2 separate regions of the Homo sapiens genome follow, and region 1 is linked to region 2. Evidence: promoter capture Hi-C in 16 types of primary human blood cells and fetal thymus (Javierre and others, 2016). All regions are on one chromosome and are shown on one strand. The core of a region is centred on a gene start or on the middle of the fragment in contact, and the rest is flanking DNA. Distances in the headings are between cores, read along the strand shown. Region 1 holds the start of CDCA5 (cell division cycle associated 5). Region 2 holds the start of MAP4K2 (mitogen-activated protein kinase kinase kinase kinase 2).

The links. The method cuts DNA at HindIII sites, captures the fragments that hold promoters and counts their contacts. A CHiCAGO score of 5 or more calls a contact.
Region 1: the fragment with the promoter of CDCA5 here is called in contact with the fragment with the promoter of MAP4K2 in region 2 in 3 of 17 cell types (erythroblasts, endothelial precursors and neutrophils); the score reaches 6.7 in erythroblasts.

Annotation. Positions count from the first base shown.
Region 1 is chr11:65,079,895-65,085,780 of GRCh38, reverse strand. It overlaps CDCA5 (cell division cycle associated 5), which reads left to right and starts at 1,741. Exons shown (of 6, transcript NM_080668.4): 1 at 1,741-1,848; 2 at 2,058-2,152; 3 at 2,231-2,296; 4 at 2,382-2,417. The coding sequence starts at 1,803. ZFPL1 (zinc finger protein like 1) reads right to left here and starts at 1,559. Exons shown (of 8, transcript NM_006782.4): 1 at 1,403-1,559; 2 at 981-1,090; 3 at 555-666. The coding sequence starts at 1,082. RefSeq lists enhancers at 256-840, 1,430-1,699, 1,780-2,009. The HindIII fragment of the contact is 9,431 bases long and covers 282-5,886 here.
Region 2 is chr11:64,801,964-64,804,463 of GRCh38, reverse strand. MAP4K2 (mitogen-activated protein kinase kinase kinase kinase 2) reads left to right here and starts at 1,250. Exons shown (of 32, transcript NM_004579.5): 1 at 1,250-1,410; 2 at 1,522-1,579; 3 at 1,811-1,901; 4 at 1,981-2,045; 5 at 2,343-2,398. The coding sequence starts at 1,315. It overlaps MEN1 (menin 1), which reads left to right. Exons shown (of 10, transcript NM_001370259.2): 10 at 1-948. The coding sequence ends at 130. RefSeq lists silencers at 1,111-1,290, 1,441-1,620. The HindIII fragment of the contact is 47,852 bases long and covers 1-2,500 here.

The DNA of each region.
Region 1 (5,886 bases), core at 492-2,991, 280 kb before region 2:
ACATTAAGTGCCTGCAAGTACACACATGCACTCACAAGGAGAAACACATATGGAGCTGACTCTTGCATGAGCTCCTTCAAAAACTGGAGCTAAGGCTCTTACCCCAGATTCAGGTCAAAGTCATGACACATATGTCTGCTGACTTCTTTTAGCTAACTTTAATGTGGGAAACTCACTTCCTCTCTGTTTAGCCTTGGAATCAGTGGTGGATCCTGAATATCTGAAAGCAACATGCCGGTCTGGCTAGCTAATAGTCACGGCCACCAGCATACCCGTAAGCTTGACTGGTTCTCGCTGAAACCTCCAGATTGGCAGGGCTTAATTTTTAGGAAAGAGGAACTAGGAGCTTTAATTTTTAGGAAAGACAGTGAGGCCTAGAAAGGAAGAATAACTTGCCTGAACTTACACAGCAGGTAAGGAACTTTAACAGGACTAGAATCTGGGCTCTGAGACTCGGGGGACTCACTGTCCTGCTGCTTGAGGAGGGCCTGGAAACCAGTCACCAAGCTGGCCCCTGAGGCTGGCCTGATCCCCCCGAGGTGCCAAGGCCTCACCATAGCAGACAAGGCGGGTCGTCTCTCGGCTGGCCAGGGGTATGTTGCACAGGCGGCAATTGGGGTTGTAGTCGCTATCTTGGAGCCATTGCAGGTAGGACTGGACGATGCACTGGAGTGGGAGAGAGATGTCACAACTGGTGCTGGGGCTGCTCGGCCTATCACCCCAAGGTCCGACTGTCTCTTTTTCTCTAGCCACAGAGGAGACTCATCCTTTCGTTTGTTTAATCAATAAATATTTATTGAGCACATACTGTGCACCAGACTCTCTCTTGGGAACGGGGGATATATCAGTGAACAAAATAAATCAAGTCCTTGCCCTTGTGGGGCTTACATTCTAGCGCGGGGCCCCTCATGGATTTGGAGGAAGCCAATACCGCCTTGCCCACCCAGTGCCCTGCTCAGTCGCTCCCCTGAAGGCCCCACCTTGGCGTGATTGGCTACCAGGCAGTGCTCGCAGACGTTGACCCGATGTTCGAAGCAGAACAGGTTGGTCACCTTTCTCTTGGGGCACTTACAAAGCCCCATGATCGATCCTGGGAAAGGGGCATGAGTTGGTAGGAAGTCAGGTTCTGGTGGCCACCACTACGCTCTCACCAGCCCAGTTTCCACTCTTAACTCCCCCAGACACCTCTCATATTCGCCCCGATCTCAGATTCCTGCCCACTGTCCCTCCTTATGCGGAGAAACACCCCCTGCATAAATCCCGCCTCCGGCGACCCCTCAATCCTTCTGGATCCCGCCCCCGGCCAGGCCCCTCCATCAGAGGCTCCCCGATACTACCGGCCCCGCCCCCAAGACCTCTCCTGAGCCCCACCCCCTCCAAGTCCCGCCCCTTCTCTACAGACCCCAGTCTCTGTGTTTACTGATCGGCCGCTGCACTGGTTCCGAAGGGCGGTAGCGATGGCTCGAGGCGCGGAAGGGCAGGGACCACTCTCCCCAGGGCTCCTGCGCCTCTCCCTTCAGCCCCGGCCGCCCCGATTATCCCTCCGCTGCCACGTCTCTTCCGGGTGCGGCGCGCGCTGATGACGCCATCGCGCCCCTGGGCCACGCCTCCGCTGCCGCTAGAGGTGAAGACGGGTGGAAAAGACTCGGGGTTCCGAGGGCCGCAGACCGCTAGCCCTACGTCACTTCCGCTTCCTTTCCCGCAGGGCGGGTAATTCGAACGTTTTTTGCAGCGAGTGGCCTTCCCGGTTGGCGCGCGCCCGGGGCGGCGGCGCTGGAGGAGCTCGAGACGGAGCCTAAGTTATGTCTGGGAGGCGAACGCGGTCCGGAGGAGCCGCTCAGCGCTCCGGTGAGCGGAGGGCGCGCGGGAGACGTGAGGTCGAGCCGTTTGGGGGACGCAGTCCGGTGAAAGATGGCCTCTTCCCTCCCGCTGCCGCCGCCGGAGGAGGCGCCCTTAAAAGGGCTTGTTTGGGAATCTTCTCGCTGTCTCTAGAACCTGTTCTCTGGACTCTAAGGTCTAGAGTCCTCCTCTACCACTTAACTTTTTTCTCTTTCCAGGGCCAAGGGCCCCATCTCCTACTAAGCCTCTGCGGAGGTCCCAGCGGAAATCAGGCTCTGAACTCCCGAGCATCCTCCCTGAAATCTGGCCGAAGGTGAGCCCCAGATTTCTCACTTCCTCCCCTTGTGGCCCCTCACCTAATGTTGAGCTCACGTTCATCCCTCTTCTCCAGACACCCAGTGCGGCTGCAGTCAGAAAGCCCATCGTCTTAAAGAGGATCGTGGCCCATGCTGTAGAGGTAAAGGCTAAGGAGAGTGTTGTGGGTGGTTAGGCGGGCAAAACTGGGGACCAGCTATGTGATCAATTGGTATTGTCCCCCGCAGGTCCCAGCTGTCCAATCACCTCGCAGGAGCCCTAGGGTGAGTTCACTTTCATCTACTTAATTAAGTAGAATCTGGGTCACTCTAGAGCTGGACAGCACACATTGGCTCCTCACATCTGCCCAGGGAGCTGTTTTGCAGTACTGCAAAAACAGTTTGCCTGTGGGCACCTGCATGCATTGCCAGTCTTGATTACTCCCTGAAGACTTAATACACTTAACTTTTTATGCCTTGTGTATTTCTACCATTTTCCTGGAACTTCCTTTAAAAGCTGAGCTATGTCTTAACTCCACGTACTGCCTTTCTAATCCATTATGCCTTCAGCTTTCATGTATGGGTGTTCTGAGATAAGTCATGTGTATGACATTTTTACAGTTTTAGCAGAAGTTATTATCAAAGGATGTTTCATTAATAGACAATCTGAAGACATACTGACTGAGAAATGTGAACTCCTTTGAAGAGCTGATAGGGCTTAGAGTCAACTGGGGAGAAAGACCAATGACAAGTGATAGCAACGTTGTGTACTGGGACTGCAATAAGGAATACTAGATGCTATGATGGTAGCTAACCCAGACCATGTGGCTCAGGGAATGTTTCGTGGAAGAAGAAACATTTGAACTGAGTCTTTAAAGACAAGTAGAGGCCGGGTGCAGTGGCTCACGCTTGTGATCCTAGCATTTTGGGAGGCTGAGGCGGGCAGATCACTTGTGGTCAAGAGTTTAAGACCAGCCTGGCCAACGTGGTGAAACCCTGTGTCTACTAAAAATACAAAATTAGCCAGGCATGGTGGCACGTGCCTATAGTCCCAGCTACTCAGGAGGCTGAGGCAGGAGAATCGCTTAAACCCAGGAGGCGGAGGTTGCAGTGGGCCGAGATCACGCCCCTGCACTCCAGCCTGGGTGACAAAGCGAGACTCCATCTCAAAAAAAAAAAAAAAAAAAAAGACAAGTAGGTTTGTTCCAGGTCAAAGAAGCCATGTTTGCAGAGATTGGGAATTTAAAGAAAAATCAAGGTTCGGGGAATAGCAATTTGTTTAGTGTCTGCAGCAGACCTCAGCAGGGGAGGAAGCACCCTAAGGCAGAGCAGATCCTGATGAGGCACAAAAGCCACACTCATGGCTTGGGCATCATTCTTGGGTCTGTGGGCAGCCTTTGGAGAGTTCTGGGTAAGGTAGTGACCGAGTCAAGTTTGAGTGTTTTAAGAAAGACCCCTCTGGGGGCTGTGGGGAGAATGGTTTTGAGAAGGGCTACCCTGGGGCTCCAAGACCAGTGGAATGACGTGAAGTCCAGGAATTCTGAAGCATGAAGCCAAGGGCGTGAGCTAAAGCCAGGATGATATACAGTACTGGGTTCAGAGGGAATTGCCCCCCAGTGGCCTTCCCTGACCACCCTTACCCTATTGCTGTCACATTTCTCTATGTAATTCTCTTAGGCCTTACCAGTTCTAAAGATAGGGTCTTGTTCTGCCACCCAGGCTGGAGTGCAGTGGCGAGATTTCGGCTCACTGCAGATCTTCCCTCCTCAGCCTCTCAAGTAGCTGGGACTATAGTCACATGCCACCATGCCTGGCTAATTTTTTGATGTTTTCTCTAATTTTTTTTATAGAGATGAGGGTTCACTATGTTGCCCAGGCCGGTCTTGAACTCCTGGGCTCAAGTGATCCTCCCACCTTGGCCTCCTAAAGTGTTGGGATTACAGGCATGAGCCACTGTGCCTGGTCCTTATCAGTTCTTATAGTGTATTTTCTTGCATGTTTGATGTCTTTCTCTCCCCCCTCTAAGAACACAGGCACCTTGAGGGTAGGGACTTCTGCCTTTCCTAGTAGCCACTCATTCTTGTTGATTGACTGAGATTCATGGTACATCGAGCAGGATAAAGTTGCCAGGACCTGGGTGACTGCTTGGCTATAGAGAATGAGGAAGTCGTAGTCAGCAGTGACCACCAATTTGTTCAGCTTCCCTGTGTTTTTTTTTTTTGAGATGGAGTCTCGCACTGTCACCCAGGCTGGAGTGCAGTGGCGCAATCTCGGCTCACTGCAACCTCCGCCTCCCAGGTTCAACCGATTCTCCTGCCTCAGCCTCCCAAGTAGCTGGGCTTACAGGCACCTGCTACCACACCTGGCTAATTTTTTTTGTATTTTCAGTAGAGATGGGGTTTCACTATGTTGGCCAGGCTGGTCTCAAACTCCTGACCTCAGGTGATCCACCCACCTCAGCCTCCCAAAGTGCTGGGATTATAGGTGTGAACCACCATATCTGGCCACCCATTATCTCTTGAACTTCATCTTCAGTTTCTTCCTCTTGCCTTCACTTCAGCCACACTGGCCTCCTTGTTGTTTGACCCTGACTAGTACACTGTGGCCTCAGGGTTGTTGCACCTTCTGTTCCCACTGCCTAGAACTTGGCCATGAGTCACTCCCACACCTCCTTCAAGTTGTAGCTTGAATGTCACCTCAGTGAGGGATGTATTGACCTTTATCTTTTTGCAATTCTAACCTGCCCCAAGCACTCTCTCCTGTTCTGTTTTCCTGTAGTGCTTGATACTGCTAACATAATACTGAATTTTCTTACCTGTTTTTCTCTTAGAATGGGGCAGGGGTTTTCTCTGTTTTATTCCCTGCTGTGTTCCCAGTGCCTGGCACAGGACAGGTGACTGATAAATACTTATGGACTGAGTGGACATTTAGGACAATCCTCATCAGCTGTGTGGCAGATGGACCACAGCAGGCAAGGGTGGAAACAGGGAGAGAAATCAGAAGGTCGCTGGGACCAGCCTGGGCAACAAAGGGAGACCTCCCCTACTCTACAAAGAAACTAAAAAAAAATCAGCCAGACAGAGTGTCACATGCCTGTAGTCCCGGCTACTCAGAGGCTGAGGTAGGAGGATTGCGTGAGCCCTGGAGGCTGAGGCTTCAGTGAGCCATGATCGTGCCACTGCACTCCAGCCTGGGCAACAGAGTTGAGACCGTTTATCTGGAAACAAAACAAAAAACGTTGCTGAGCTGGTCTAGAAGACACCTAATGAGGGCTTGAGTTGGTCAGAGGAGAGGCTGGATGCTGGGCACATTTTGGAAACAAGCGACAGCACCAGCAGATGGGGGCAAGTCCATTTGTGTCACAAAAGCAGACTCCTTGGAAGCAATGGTGGGTTGTTTTCTTCTCTCCATGTCTCTTTCAGGGTCTGATTTGTCCCTTCCTTAAAAAAAGTGTGTGTTGGCCGGGCATGGTGGCTCACGCCTGTAATCCCAGCACTTTGGGAGGCCGAGGCGGGCGGATCACGAGGTCAGGAAATCGAGACCCTCCTGGCTAACACGGTGAAACCCCGTCTCTACTAAAAATACAAAAAATTAGCCGGGCGAGGTGGCGGGCGCCTGTAGTCCCAGCTACTCGGAAGGCTGAGGCAGGAGAATGGCGTGAACCCGGGAGGCGGAGCTTGCAGTGAGCCGAGATCATGCCACTGCACTCCAGCCTGGGCGAGAGAGCAAGACTCCGTCTCAAAAAAAAAAAAAA
Region 2 (2,500 bases), core at 1-2,500:
CAAGATCAACTCGAGCGCCATCAAGCTGCAACTCACGGCACAGTCGCAAGTGCAGATGAAGAAGCAGAAAGTGTCCACCCCTAGTGACTACACTCTGTCTTTCCTCAAGCGGCAGCGCAAAGGCCTCTGAACTACTGGGGACTTCGGACCGCTTGTGGGGACCCAGGCTCCGCCCTTAGTCCCCCAACTCTGAGCCCATGTTCTGCCCCCAGCCCAAAGGGGACAGGCCTCACCTCTACCCAAACCCTAGGTTCCCGGTCCCGAGTACAGTCTGTATCAAACCCACGATTTTCTCCAGCTCAGAACCCAGGGCTCTGCCCCAGTCGTTAGAATATAGGTCTCTTCTCCCAGAATCCCAGCCGGCCAATGGAAACCTCACGCTGGGTCCTAATTACCAGTCTTTAAAGGCCCAGCCCCTAGAAACCCAAGCTCCTCCTCGGAACCGCTCACCTAGAGCCAGACCAACGTTACTCAGGGCTCCTCCCAGCTTGTAGGAGCTGAGGTTTCACCCTTAACCCAAGGAGCACAGGTCCCACCTCCAGCCCGGGAGCCTAGGACCACTCAGCCCCTAGGAGTATATTTCCGCACTTCAGAATTCCATATCTTGCGAATCCAAGCTCCCTGCCCCAAATAACTTCAGTCCTGCTCCAGAATTTGGAAATCCTAGTTTCCTCTCCTTCGTATCCCGAGTCTGGGACACAAAACTCCGCCCCCAGCCTATGAGCATCCTGAGCCCCGCCCTCTTCCTGACGAAACTGGCCCCGGATCAGAGCAGGACCTCCCTTCCGACCCTCTGGGAACCTCCCAGAGGTCCAGCCCATCTCGGAGCATCCCGGAGGAAATCTGCAGAGGGTTAGGAGTGGGTGACAAGAGCCTGATCTCTTCCTGTTTTGTACATAGATTTATTTTTCAGTTCCAAGAAAGATGAATACATTTTGTTAAAAAAAATATAAAGCGCAAGTCCATGTTTATCTGGGAAATTGGGGATGGGGCGGGGAGTGGAGCGCCCCCTCTTCCCTCTGTCTTCTGGCTCCCGGGACTTTGCGCTCCCTACCTGTGGAGCGCGAGCGACAGTGGCGGCGGAAGGACGTAGGCTCCGCCCCGGCCTTGGGGCTTCCCCGCGCCGCCGAGGGCCCGTCCCGCGGGCGCCTCCTCCCGGACTGGCGGTGGGGCATCCCCGGCGCGGCCCCGCCCCCGGGCCTCAGCCCCGCCCCCGCGGCCTCAGAGCCACGGGCGCCCGCCCCGCCCCGCGCCGCCCCGCGCCGGCTCCGCAGCTCGCGCCCGCCCGCCTGCCGGCCCGCCCGGCGCCGGGCCATGGCGCTGCTGCGGGATGTGTCGCTGCAGGACCCGCGGGACCGCTTCGAGCTGCTGCAGCGCGTGGGGGCCGGGACCTATGGCGACGTCTACAAGGTGCGACGGGACGGGCGGGAGAGCCGGGAGGAGGGTGCCAGCCCCGCACCCCGCGGCAGGATCTAGCCCCCGGCCCCGCCCCCCATCCCGCTTCACCCTCCGCCCCTGCAGGCCCGCGACACGGTCACGTCCGAACTGGCCGCCGTGAAGATAGTCAAGCTAGACCCAGGTGAGGGCCCGGGTCGGGCCTCTGCGCCAGAGGAAGGGCAGAGCGCCCGCGGGCGCGGGGTGCGGGCGGAGGGTTGACGTTTCCGAGACCCCTGAGAGGCGTGCCCCGGGAGGTGCTGTCACCTGCACCTGCCTGGCCCGGAGGGAGGCACTCTGTGCCCATTTTGCAGATGGGGGCACTGAGTCAGGGCAACCCCAGCGCGCCTTCCCCATGATGCTTTGTGCTTCCCAGGGGACGACATCAGCTCCCTCCAGCAGGAAATCACCATCCTGCGTGAGTGCCGCCACCCCAATGTGGTGGCCTACATTGGCAGCTACCTCAGGTGAGGCTGCCTTATCCTCCTGGCCCCAGGCAGCCCCCATGTGACCTGCTTTGTGCCCACCCCAGCTCTTTGTCCCTAGGAATGACCGCTTGTGGATCTGCATGGAGTTCTGCGGAGGGGGCTCCCTGCAGGAGATTTACCATGGTGAGGCCAGGGCTCCAGGCCCCAGCAGGCCCCAGCCTTCCCCCACCCCTACCCCACTGGGGTACCAGAGGGGACTCTGGGCCCTGGACTTGGGCTCCTCTCCACTCCTGCCTGGCTGTGTGACCTTGAGAGAAATACTGTCCATCTCTGGGTTCAGTATCCTAGACTAAACTGGGAGGGGACGTGGCCAACACCGCTTTCATTTAACAGTGCCTGCTGCTTTTCCCACACACGGTAGCCTGGGAGGGTGGGCATGACCCCCGGGCCCCCAAGCCAGCCTCTCCCTTTTCCTTTCAGCCACTGGGCCCCTGGAGGAGCGGCAGATTGCCTACGTCTGCCGAGAGGCACTGAAGGTAGCTGGGCCTGTGAGGTGCCCACACCTCTGGTCTCCAGAAGCTGTGGGCCAGGAGCCCAGATGACCAGCAGGGAGGCGGGTGGAGTGCCTCGGGTGGGGC